3 separate regions of the Homo sapiens genome follow, and regions 1 and 2 are each linked to region 3. The links are contacts of gene promoters, found by promoter capture Hi-C in blood cells and fetal thymus (Javierre and others, 2016). All regions are on one chromosome and are shown on one strand. Each heading gives the region's core, a stretch centred on a gene start or on the middle of the fragment in contact. The rest is flanking DNA. Distances are from core to core; before and after follow the strand shown. Region 1 overlaps SAMD13 (sterile alpha motif domain containing 13). Region 2 has its middle 20 kb from the start of SAMD13. Region 3 holds the start of DNASE2B (deoxyribonuclease 2 beta).

Region 1 (4,400 bases), core at 662-3,161, 74 kb after region 3:
ACCCTTGAGTATGATCAGTCTTTCAGAGGACACAGATGTAAATGAGCTTTAGCCTTCTTCTCCACAGCTGCCACTGTCTCCGGCTTTGAGTTTTCCCCTTGCACAAAGGGATAATTCACCTGGTACATCCATTCTCCTTCCCCTCAGTTTCTCAGAGCCTCACTGATTCCTCCCTGCTCTTTGGTCCTCTTCCTCCTCACTCCCTTCTGCCCACTGTTGGGAAGGGAGGTAACTGTGGGTTCATCACATGTTCATCACGTGTTTCTCTAGACCAAGTTACCTGTTCCTGAAAAGCACTAGCTTGCTCCTCAAATCCCACGGTTCGGAAATAATTGACGACATCCATCACGGCCCAGTCTGCAGGATCAGGTGGTCTCCCATTTTCCATGGAACTGCAAAACACAAATCCAGACAGTTGTCATGGCAGTGCCTGCACAAGGGTGTGGCCAGGCTCACAAATGGGTCTTCTGGGACAGGCCTTTCATGTTTTTTGGGTTCAGATGATGATTACTCTCACTGGCTTAGTCACTGCTAATAAACCATTTGACATTTAATGTAAATTATTTCCTCTGGTTTTTAATCCAGAGACATTGAGAGTGGTCCAGTGACTGCTGGCAGCCCAGAGTATGATATTCATACTTCTGAGTTCAGAACACCTGGCCTTTTACGATATGACCTCAACATACCGCTCTCTCTTCCTGTCTTCCTAACACCTTCCCTAGCCCCATCCCCACACATCTAGGGATAAAGCCCTTCCACAATAGGCCAAGTCCTTTCATAGATCTGAGCCTCTGCACATTCTGTCCCAGCCACTTACAATGCCCCCACACCTGTCTCTATTGGACAAAACTCTACCATTTCTACCAATACAAAACTACCTCCTCTTTGAAGCATTTTTTCTGGCTCTTCCAAGGGTGTGTTTTAGTCATAACCTCCTTTGACTTCTAGAACTTCATTCAAACTCCCATTGTAGCACCTTCCACACTGAATTATACCCTCTGTTTATTGAACAGTCTCTCCCACTAGAGTGGGAGATGCAGGTTGGAGAAATGCATTTGAGCCCGGACCACTTCTCATTTTATTATTCCTAGTATCAAGTGTGTACTTAGGAACTTAACCCATATTGTTCAAATAAATAAACAGATGACAAGATAACAATCAAGCATTTGTCTGAGTGGGTCTATGGGTAATGCTCCTCATTGGATTCAGAGAGGAGGGAAAGGAGAAGTAGAATAAAGAAAGACTGGTAATGACCTGCAGTTACTGGGACTCTGCCTCATTTCTGCGTTGGGAGTATTTGTCTGGCTTTCTCTATACCTCATCCAAGATGATTTTCCCAGAGTGTACATCCAATCACATAGCCTAACTTTGCTTTGGAGGTCCCTCAGGACAAAGCCTCTCCTCTCTCCAACTAGGAATACACTGGAGAGCAAAACAGACACCACCCTTATTCTTACGGGCCTTACAGTCCTGTGGGGAGTAGACACTGATCAATAATCATACAAGTAAATGTACAGCGGCAAGTTATGCTAAATGCTAAGAAGGACAAGCATCATTTACTATGATAGTTAAAGGGATAGGGGAAGCTTTCCCGTGGGAGTTTCTTTTCAGGTACGATCTAAAAGACAGCCAGAAATTAACTGTATGAAGAAGTCACATGAAGAATATTCCAGGCCCTGTGACAGAAACACATACAGCCAAGGGAGCCATGCAGGTCTTGGAGGCCACACTGAGGATTCTGGATTTTTGCTAAGAGCAATGAGGAGCTGTTGAATGGTCCTATGTAAAGGGGGTGACCTGATCAGATTCACATTTTGAAAAAGAGGATGCTGGAGAGGAGCCAGTGGGGAAGAAGCCAGTGAGAAGTCTATTGCAGTCATGCAACCCAGAGATCATGCGTAGACTAGGGTGGTGTATGTGAAAAACAAGAGGAGTGTGTGGATTTAAAAGAGAGTTAATGAATAAAATCAGTGTAACTTAGTGCTAGACCAGACATAGAGAATGGAGGGAGTAGAAGTGTCATGGAATTGGATGGATGGTGGTAACATCCATCCAGCTAAACATGCTAAATTTGGTGTACTGTCTATATCCAAGTGGAGATTTAATGTGGGCTATAAGTCTACAGCACAAAGCAGAAGAGTGGGCTAGGTACACCTGTGGGAGACAGAGGCATTTAGACAGTAACTGAAATCTTGAGAGAGGAGGAGAAGAGAGCTGGGCCTAGAACTAAGCTTGAGAGGTTCAATATTTAGTGGAAGTTGAAAACATCCAGGTTACTTTTAGTGGAAACAAAATTGGCTAGATTTGGAGAGATTTCTGAAGGTCTTTAAAGGTCTAAGAGTCAAGGATCCAGCCACCTCATCCCCCAGCATAATGTTTTGCCCATAGCAGGAACCTAAAATATTTGATTTAAGAAAACCAAACCAACTTCTGTACTAGTTAAAGGGAGTCACTGATCGATGGCACATGTGATCGTTAATTTCTCAACAGCACCTAATTTAAAAACACCTAAAGCCAATACTCTAAATGTCTTCTCTTTTGGGCTTAAAGATGGTGAATCTATAACCACTGCATGCCTGTATACACACATACCCATATGCACACATGCACACACACAATCTTCCTACCATTTAACAGGCAATATACATCGAGAAGAAAACTATTTTTCACCCTAATGTTACTAAATATTAACTATGTGTTTTTAAATCAATAGTAAATTTTAAAAAAAATTATCTATGTGCTGGAATTTTCCATACACTAGCAACATAAGCAATCAGCAACTGGCACTGAGGACCCTCTTCAAGCTACCATTTTCCTTCCCTCTCTCTTAAGGTGTCCTTGAAGAATGTTCAGAAAGGAGTTCATTGTTCCAACAAATCTTTTCAGTTTTCTAATTAGCTCACTTCTGGTAGTGAACACAGAGTCCCATCGAACACACTTTTAAGTGCCCCCAGAAAACATCTGAATTCAATCTCCCTGTGGTTGACTTCAGTTAGTCGCCTTTCCTCACCAAGAATAGTTATCAGACCTTCACATGTACCCCCAAACCTAAAATAAAACATTTTAAAAAGAATATTCAATTGTAATAACAAAATAAGCTACATTGTAATTTTAAGATGGGAGGCTTTCCTGATTTTTATTCTAGTGGGATATAACATCATGACTTCCATAATTTTGAAATATTCTTGAGTATAGCAATGCCACAGAGAAGAAAGACTTGTAAAACTGCTGGCAGTGTACCATGAATAGCAGCAACGTGGAACGGGGCACTCTTTCATATGGAGGGTAAGGGAATTCACCCAGAAGAAACAAGGGGTTAGAAACCAACCAATACATTTAATGATTGATCTACCTAAGTTTAAAAGCCTGATATCCCCCCAAAGCCAAAATAACCAGGAAAAAAATCACATTAGACTATCGATATCCTGAGAAGAAAAACCTATCTTCATCTTTGTAGCACCAGCACCTAGCACAGTCTGACTGGTGCACAGTTGATACACAGCAAAGTATTACAATGGACTAACAACCAGAGAGCACTTACAACTTAAAATCTGTTTTTCACACGTTACTCAGTATCAGCCTCCCACCTCTTTGTGAACTGGCTACTGTAACCTGCTTTTGGGAAACGAAGGCTCAGAAAGGTTAAGAAACACACCCCAAATAGCATGGTAGATAAAGCTAGGATTGGATTCCGGATATGCTTGCCTCCAAGTCTCTGCTTTTTTTCCACTATACTTATTCATTGACACAACAGATATTTATTAAAAGCCTGTCTTCTCAGTATTATGCTAGATGCAGGGTTACAAGGACAGGGAATGCATAGTCCCTGCCCTCAAGGAGCCGGCAATCTGGTGAGGGAAACCAGATGTGGAAACAGCTAGCTCTGAGGAATATTCGAATCGAGGGGTGAACAAAGTGCTGTTGAGGACGTATTTACGTAAGGGAGGGCTGGTTAGTTCCGCCTGCCTAGAACACTTGAAGATTTTCAATGGCAGTTTAAAAAGGCATTTATTGCCCTCAACACTCTCTGAGCGGGGCCCCAGAGTGGGGATGGCTTGCAGAGGCACGTCTCCACGGGCATAAACCATCACTTCTAGGTTGCTCGTGTTAATGCACGATGGATGATTTCACTGGGCTCTTCCAGTGGTTTCAGCAACAGTTTTAAGGAGAAAGCTGGTGATGATCCAAAATAACATAACAAGCGTAAGCCAAGTGGAAGGGTGTGCGGGGCAGGAGCCAGAGGGCCAAAGCCAGATAACATTTGACATGGGAAGATACTGGAGGATAGATTTAAGCAGCACCATTCTCTGCTAGGAATACAATATGTCTCCCCAAGGACTGATATTTTGTCCAAATTGAGACACTTAGCTTTAGTTATTTCCTTATAAATGGTCCATTCT
Region 2 (4,423 bases), core at 222-2,721, 120 kb after region 3:
TGGTTTACTTAAAATAGTGGGTATCCTAAAGGAATCAGGCATCTAGGGACAGGGAAGGACCGAGGGATATGTTCCTTATATCCCAAGGTATAAACAATCTGAAATAATAAAAATACAAGTAAAAATATAGAGAGGGGACTTCTCCTACTCTGAAGAACTTAACATGAGTAATAAAATATATAAATCTTTTAAATGCAAGGATAAATTTAAAAGTAAAATATATAATAGAAATATAAATGCAAGGAAGAAGAAAAAGACCATAAAAATGTCTATCATATCTGAAAAAGAACAAAATAGAACTTATAAATAAAAAATAAACAGATTGGAATTAAAAACTCAGTGGAAGAATTAACAGTAGACAAGACCACAGCCGAAGAGAGAATTAGAGAGTGGCAATTATAGACTGGAAGACCTTACACAGAATGCAGCACAAGGAGACAGAAGCTGGAAAATATGACAGAGAGGCTGAGGGACTTGGAGGATAGAGTGAAACGCTTCAATGTCTGTAACCAAAGTTTTTTAAGAGGCAATAACAGAGGAGAGGATGAGGCAATAACTGAAGAGACAATGAATGAGACATTCTTAGAATTGATGAAAGATAACCTCAAATTCCAAAACCCCAAAAGATTCCTAGTAAGACAGATAAATTGAGACACACACACAGAGACACACACACACACACACACACACACATGCACACACACACCCCAAACACATTGTTAGAAAACTTCAGAATGCCAAAGACAAAGATGACATTAAAATTAACTGAAGAGAAAATAAAATTACCAATAAAGGAATGGAAATTAGATAGTTGACTTCTCAGCAACAAAAACATAAGAAGACAGAAGATTGTGGGAAAATATTTTTAATGTATTGAGAGAGTAACTCTCAAATAGAATTATTTACCCATTAAAATTATTGGTCACAATATGTTACATTATGCTTTGGTAAAAAATTAACTCTGAAACCTCTGTGGCCTCTCACATCAATCAACAATTAACTCTGAAACATTTCAAGTTACACATCCAGCATGGGTTGTATGGAGCTCTGCTCACACCATTACTAGGGACTCAGGCTGAGAGAGTGCTGCCCTCTGTAACTCCAACATCCAGGGCTGTAGGGACATGTGAGATCACTGCAGAAGGGAAAGGGGATGCGCAGGAGCACAGGTCCCAGCTGTCTTTGTCTAGTAGTGAAACCTATCACTTCTAGTCATAGTTCATTGGCCAGAATAAGTCACAAGGTCCCAAACTAACTGCAAGGGAGAGTGGGAAATATAATCACATGGATATTCAGTAATACTGACTTTCTCTGCCACAACTATTTTTCAACATGGGGATGAAATAGAGGCTGTTTAGATAAACACTTAAAAAGTTTAACATTAAAAAACTCTTAATAATGGAACTTCTTAGCATGTCTTCAAGCAGAAGGAAAATGATCTGAAAAGGAAAGTCTGAGATACAAAAAACACACTGAGTAAAGTAAAAGACAAACTGTTGGGTAAACATACTGCTGGTGAAAACCATATAAATAAATAATGAAGCGTAACTTGTGGGGTTCAGAAATAATAGCTGGTAAAGTGGAAGTGCTGATAGGCATTAAAACATTCTTAGCTCTTTGCATATTTGGGAAGATTATAAAGATTGTAAATGTAGAGTTTGTTAGGTTTAAGTATCCATGTTCTGATTTCAAAGGAACTGCTTAACAGAAGAGAAGTAAAGCCTATACCTTCAAAACTAGAGGGGGAAAGTTGGGACTTAAGAAATTTAATCTGCCGGGCGGCGCGGTGTCTCACACCCGTAGTCCCAGCACTTTGAGAGGCCAAGGTGGGCGGATCACCTGAGGTCAAGAGTTCAAGACCAGCCTGGCCAACATTGTGAAGCCGCATCTCTATTAAAAATACAAAAAAAGTTAGCCGGGTATTATGGTGACGGGCGTGCCTCTAGTCCCAGTTACTCGGGAGGCTGAAACAGGAGAATTGTTTGAATCCAGGGGGCGGAGGTTGCAATGAGTCAAGATCACGCCATTGCACCCTAGCCTGGACGACAAGAGAGAAACTCCATTTCGAAAAAAAAAAGAAAAAATTAATTTAATCAATTGAAAAGAGGCAAGAAGGAGAAAAAAGAAACAGGAAAGCCAGAAAAAATAGAAAGTTAAAAAACTGATGACAGGAGTAAATTTATCAATGAAATAAACCCAGTTGAAAGGGAAGCTGTGAGATTGGATTAAAAAAAACAAAATCTATTGGATAAAAGAAACAAAATCTATGTTTGTGCTTTCTATAAGAGACATACCTAAGACATTGAGAAAGAATAGTTGAAAGTAAAAGAATAGAAAAATATATTTTAAGCAAATATTAAGAAAAAAGAGTTGGAATGTCTATATATATAAAATGTAAAATAGATTTTATGGCAAAAAAACCTTATGATAGACAAAAGAGATTATTTAATAATGATAAGAGGTTTAACTCCCCAGGTGGAAAAAATTCTAAAGTTTAAAACTTGATAACCTAACTTCAATAAGATAAAGGGGAATTTGACATACTTACAAGGAGATACTGTTGAATTCTCCACTATTGTGAGTCATTAAATATATATATCTCAATAATTGATAGGTAAAATGGAACTAAAGCATTAAGGATATGATTAATTTAAGCAATACAGAAAGCTAATCTACTGAACATATATATTTCTACACTCCAAATTAAGGTATACAAATTAGTTTTGGTTATGCAAGAAACACTACAATAATTTATCATGAATTAGGCTATAAATCAAGTCTCAACCACTTTTAAGAAACTCATCTTAAACACATTATATTTTTGACCACAATTCAATTAATAAAGATATCTTTAGCTAAAAGGTTATGTTTTAAAAATTTAGAAAATTCAGAAACTTTTGAATAACTCATCAATCAAGGAGTAAATCATAATGCAAAATAGAAAATGTTTAGGATCAAACAATAATAAAATCCACTTTACCAACTTCACTAAAACAAATGGTTAAAAGAGGCTTGGAGGGAATTTTAAGTCATAAATGCTTATACTAGAAACTGAGAAAGGCTGAATATTGCTGAGCTAAGCATTCATGAGAAATTATTTTACAAAATAGAATTAATTTAAAGAGAGCAGAAGAAAGAAAATAATAAGGATAAGCCTAGAAATTAATGTAATAGAAAAAAGTATAAAATAAAAAAGATCAACAATGCCAAAATTAAGGTTTTTGAAGAAGTGAGTAAAATTCATTGATCTGGCCTGGTTGAACTAAAAGAAAGGAGAAAGAGGAAGGAGGAAGAGGAGGAAGAAGAAGACAAAGATGACAACAAAAATGTTAGGAATTAAAAAAATTCAGAGAAGTAAAAAAATGGTAAACTAGTACAAACAACTTGGTATCACATTTGAAGATTTAGACAAAATGGTCAAATTATTAGAAAAAAAAGTAAGTTACCAAAACAAACTCGGGAAGAAATAGAAATTCAGAGTCATTGTAAAGTCCTTAAAGAAATTGGTTCACCAACTTTAAAATCTTACACAAAGACCTGGCCCAGATGACTTTATAGGTGACTATTAATAAACACCTAAAAAACATAATTCCAATGTAAGGCACGCTTTCAAAAACTTGAAACAAGGAAAAACACCCCAATAAAAAATATAATGGCCTCATTCCATGGAAAAAATATGTATTATATATAGCACACTATAGAAGGATGATACAAGAGGTAAAAAATGACAAACCAACTTCACTCATGAATGTAGAAGCAAAACTCTGCAAAAAAGTATAAAAATGTAATCCAGCAATGCACAGAAGATAACATATTATGATTAAATACATTATTTAAACAAATTGAGTTTACTCTCGGAACACAGGACGGTCTAACTTTAGAAAATCAAATGGATACAATTTGCTAAATTACAGATTAATAGAGAACAAACACATGCTAATATGAATGGTTGCAGATAAATTATTCTATACAACTTATTTTTTATCCACGTTAAAACAAGCAAACAAAAACTCTTAGGCAACTATGTAAATTAAAGCAAAGGAAGGATAAACACATAATTTAGCAGGGTGGTTTGCCTGAGGAGGCAGGCTATACAGATTGTGGGGCATACATAGGAAGCTTCTGTGACACTGGCATTTGCTTACCACACAAGGCTTTTCATGTTCTGGCCCCTCACCATCCCTCTAGTGTCACATCCATCCAAACCTTTAAACCCATTCTTTATTTCCATTTGTATGGATCTTCCAAAACCACACGTAATGGCACTTCACACCTCCATGCCTTAGTACACGTTGCTTTCTCTTGGCCAGAAATGCTCTTCCTCCCCTCCCCGTTTAGCCAAATCCTACTCATCCTTCAAATTCTGGAACTTCATTTTACACCTTCGCTAAATATTGATTTAGAAACCTTCCCTTCTTCTGTA
Region 3 (4,643 bases), core at 149-2,648:
TGCCAATGGGTTTCCTAAAGTGCAAATCTGACCATTCACACCCCTGCGTGAAGTCCTCCAATAGCTCCCTTTCAATGTCAAGTTCAAACCTTGTAGCTCAGCACACAGACCCCTTGGCTGTCCCCACCTCTCTAACCTCACCTCCGGTCATCTTCCTGTATTCTCCTGAAGTTCCAGCAATACCAAACTACTTTGCAACTCCCAAATTTCCATGTTGCTTCTTGCCTCTCTACCTCCTCATTGCTCCTTCATTGGCCTGAGATGCTCTTGCACATCCCTTCTTTTTCCAGCTACTTCTTAATTGTTCTTAAAACTTAGCTCAAAAATTACATCCTTAGAGAAGTTTTCTGGGCTCTCTGTTCCCCAGTGTTCCACCTATGCCCTTACCACATAACTGTGAGGTCCTTGAGGGTAGGAACCATGTTTCGTTCATATTTATATTTTCAAAACTCCACACAGACCTCTGTTGAGCTCAGTAACTGAGGAAAGACTGACTACTGCCTTGAGTATATCTGTGTTCTGTAGCCTGAAGTTTACACAAAAAGCTTGACACCAACCATTATGGCAAACCTAAATATCCCAATTAAAGGGTGAAAAAGTAGTTAAAGCTTTAGGAGAACCCATGACTATAATGCAACACAGCATTTAATGTCTTTGACACTGTACAACAGGCCAGTGGCCTACGTACCAATCATGGCAACAGCTGCCTCTGCTTCCAAACAAACCGATGTTAGGCAAACAGTGCTGTGTGTGACCAGGTCCCCCTTCTCTTTCTCATAAGGAGCAGCACATGCTCCATTTTCAGAAAAAAATAATCTGCCTTCTTTACTCTGTCAGTCTTTCAAAGGATGTTGGAAGTGTTCTGTTAGGAAAAGCCATGATGTAATTAAAAGAAATTGCCAGCTCACAGAAGCTGTCAGCTCAATCCCACTTCTGTGGCTACCAGCCTTGCCCCGCTGAGAACAGTGAATCAGGCCCAAGAGGGGCTGCTCAGCTCTTTTTCAGGGGGAAACTCCGTCACTCAGAAGCCTACCCCTGCCTGGGAGTTTGGCCGATTTGCACACTTTAACTTCCTTTATTTGTAAAGGGAGGAAAGAGAATGGACATTCCCCTTAGGAACTTCGCAGTGAGCCAGGCCAACTCTGTACCGAGGCTGTTTGCATGCAGCAGTCCTTCCATTTCATTTACCTACCAGTCCACAGCTTTCCCTTCTTCATTTCTGCATGAAATTGTTGCTGCCCCCAGCACCCCAAAGAGGCCAAGGAAGAGCAAAGCAAAGGATGTTCTTAGCAGTCTTGCCATCATTTTCTGTTTCATTTATTTCATGCCACAGCAGGACACTTTCCCCATAGATTGTGGAGTCTGAGTTTCAAGGCGCTCTCAGGCTGTGCTGGCTCTGACGTTTGATTTGATTTACCTGTGCTGTTCGCTGTTCGGGGCATTTTCAGAGTGGGATGGATCCCATGTAATTGTGCGATTCTGTCACAACATGCCAGCGTGACTCTGGATGCCTTTGTGCTGAATTGTTGACTGGTTTGCAAAGTCATCAAAAAGTTCTGCAGAAAAATAGGGAAAGATAGTTCACTCTTTGGAGTGAACATTGTTGTATGAAATTCATTGGGCAGGGGGACTTCATTTTAATAAGTAGATGTTAAATATATTTCATGTCTTCTCCTGTTTGACTCAATGAATGAGAGCAAATGCAGGTGGTTCGTACATTAAACAGAAATGATAAAACCTTATGTCTTAGTAATAATTAGGATCTGTCACTTAATAATCTCTGTCTTAAGGAACCAGTTGCTAAGGGATACTTCAAAGGGTTGCTTCAAAGTAACAGTAAATTTAACTGTATTTTACCAAAGATGTTTACATATTCTCTCCATCTTCCTGGTTTTAGCCACTCAATGTGGTGCTTCAGGCTGCTATGCAATAGGTAAACATATTGATCACCCACTCTTCAGGTTAATAAAAAATGTTACAAACATCTATTTTGCCCAAACTATGCTTTCTCATTCTCGAAGCTGAATCTGAAGTAGAAAACCAAAATAAAATGGCCCACTACCATAACAACTATAAAAAGGTGAGACCAATTTCTTTGTGAATCAGGGAAGGAGTAGATAGACATATGAAAATAATTTCTTTAATGCATACTTTTGCATCAATTATTAAAGCTGCCATCATAATAAATAGCAGTTTACATCATGCCTGGAAATAATGCTGCCCCTAATCTGTCTCTCTGATAATCACAATGATAACTATAATAGTTCCAGATCAGAGGATCCAGACCAAACTGAACCCTTGTAAATCAGATTACCTCTGTGGTTGCACTAGAACTGTTCACAATTCTCAGGATTCATAGAAAAGGGGAAGGCTTGTGTCTCTATCCTAAGACAGAGTTTTGGGAGGAGGACTCTGTACCACCTGCCCAATTACCTGTGGTGCCTGCAAAAAAGGCAGAATTCTAGGACTTATTCCAAACCTGCTACATCAGAATTCTTCCAGTTGGGCTCAAGAATCTATATTTTTAATAAGCTTATTGGTGATGCTGGTGTACCCTAAAGTTTGAAACTCACTGCCCTGAGGCCAAGACTATGCTGTATTTGGTAGATTCACAGCTTTCTGCAGGTTAAATGAAGAAATATTTTTCTTACCCATTCCTCCATTGGTATTATTATTATTATTATTTTGAGATGAAGTTTTGCTCTTGTTGCCCAGGCTGGAGTGTACCCACCTCGGCCTGGGAATCCATCCACCTCGGCCTCCCAAAGTGCTGGGATTACAGGCATGAACCACTGTGCCTGTTCTCATTTTGTTTTATATATTTTCTTCCTGTGTTCAGAAAAAAGGATTTCAACAACCCCAACCTTTTTGTCAATTTTTAAAAGTTTTTTTAAAAATTATCAGCTGGACGCAGTGGCTTATGCCTGTAATCCCAAAACTTTGGGAGGCTAAGGCAGGAGGATTGCTTGAGCCTGGGAGTTCAAGACCAGCCGGGGCAACATAGCAAGAATGTATCTCTACAAACAATAAAAAAAAAATTAGTCGGGCATAGTGGCACATGCCTGTAGTCCCAGCTGTTCAGGAGGCTGAGGTGGGAGGATTGCTTGAGCCCAGGAAGTGGAGGCTGCAGTGAGCCATGATGGTACCACTGCACTTTTGCCTGGGTGACAGAGTGAGATTGTCTCAAATATATATATATATGTATGTATGTATGTATGTATGTATACTGAGAGAGAGAGAGAGAGAGAGAGAGAGAGAGAGAGAGAGAGAGAGAGAGATTACTCTTCTCTGTTAAAGTAAACACAGAGTCTTGCTGTGTCGCCCAGGCTGGAGTGCGGTGGTGCAATCTCAGCTCACTGCAACCTCCACCTCCCACGTTCAAGTGGTTCTCCCACCTCAGCCTCCTGGGTAGCTGGGATTACAGGTGCCCACCACCAGGCCCGGCTAATTTTTGTATTTTTAGTAGAGATGGGGTTTCACCTTTGGCCAGGCTGGTCTCAAATTCCTGACCTCAGATGATCTACCCGCCTCAGCTTCCCAAAGTGCTGGGATTACTGGTGTGAGCCACTGCACCAGGCCAAAATAATTTTATTTATTTACTTATTTATTTACCTGTGAGACTTTTTGGTATTACAACTAATAATAGAAACATACCAGTAGGATTCACTGATGCATTTAGAGAATGTAAGCAAATTGTTTTCAGTTATGTAGGGCTAAAGACAGTTTGTTGAGTAGGATTTAAAATCATTCCTTTTTTCTTCTCCTTATTACACTTAGCACAGTGCCTGGTAATAGTAAGTGATTCATAAATGTTAGCTAAGATTATTCTTACTACAACCTGAGCTTTTCCTGTAAGGTGGTTGGGGGACATCTGTATTAGAATGATATTTGCTAAATCCAATTTTATTTCAAGGTCTGGGAAGACACTGTTAGGTTGGTTTCTTTCAGATGTCACTTTCAATAAACTTCCTTATCTCCCATTATTGCTAACCTGATCATGCTGGTTGTCAGTCAACAACCTTTCTTATGCCATCACTACTGTGTCTAATATTGTACCAGACACTGAAGATCTCCAGGGATTTCAACATTACCTAAAACCTAGAGTCCAGTCTGTTTCAGTTTTTACTAAAAACAGTGAAGTAATTTGGAAAAAAACCTATGAATTTGGTGAGTGAGGAAAATGCAAACTGTGCAGAATGTTTTTCATAATATTATCTGCTTTTGAAGCCCAAGAAATATAATGTTATGTAAGTGCCATAGTTCCTTCATAACCTGATTGCCTCTAAAAACAGTAGAAAACGCCTTCATTGTAACTTGGCCAAGTACTATATAGTGTACAAGTAAGAATTCTTTCTAGGTAATGGGCTTTTAATTTCATGATTGAAGTTTTGTAGTCACCCAATTATTCTGGAAAATCTCAGTCTTGAGCTCTTCAAATAGTGCCTTTTCCACATTCTCTTTATTATATCTTTCTAGTACATTTTATGTGTTGTTCATATATTCTAGCTCCTTGTATGTCTGCATTAATCCTTATGATTATTTATTTAGATCTGTCTTCCAGTTCTCTAATTCGCTCTTTGGCAGCATTAATCTGTTACCTAATCTATCTCTTCCAAATAACTAATTCTTTTAAAAAATATTTT

What was found. The method cuts DNA at HindIII sites, captures the fragments that hold promoters and counts their contacts. A CHiCAGO score of 5 or more calls a contact.
Region 1: a contact is called between a fragment that was not itself captured here and the fragment with the promoter of DNASE2B in region 3, in 4 of 17 cell types (M0 macrophages, M1 macrophages, M2 macrophages and 1 more). The highest score is 8.3, in M0 macrophages.
Region 2: a fragment that was not itself captured here is called in contact with the fragment with the promoter of DNASE2B in region 3 in 1 of 17 cell types (M2 macrophages); the score reaches 7.5 in M2 macrophages.

What each region holds. Positions count from the first base shown.
Region 1 is chr1:84,321,629-84,326,028 of GRCh38, reverse strand. It overlaps SAMD13 (sterile alpha motif domain containing 13), which reads right to left. Exons shown (of 4, transcript NM_001134663.2): 3 at 281-392. Among named protein-coding and RNA genes, the nearest start is that of SAMD13, 22 kb to the right of the region's middle. The HindIII fragment of the contact is 645 bases long and covers 1,589-2,233 here.
Region 2 is chr1:84,279,754-84,284,176 of GRCh38, reverse strand. No RefSeq gene overlaps it. Among named protein-coding and RNA genes, the nearest start is that of SAMD13, 20 kb to the left of the region's middle. The HindIII fragment of the contact is 5,301 bases long and covers 1-4,121 here.
Region 3 is chr1:84,395,239-84,399,881 of GRCh38, reverse strand. It overlaps DNASE2B (deoxyribonuclease 2 beta), which reads right to left and starts at 1,398. Exons shown (of 6, transcript NM_021233.3): 1 at 1,193-1,398. The coding sequence starts at 1,317. The HindIII fragment of the contact is 1,924 bases long and covers 611-2,534 here.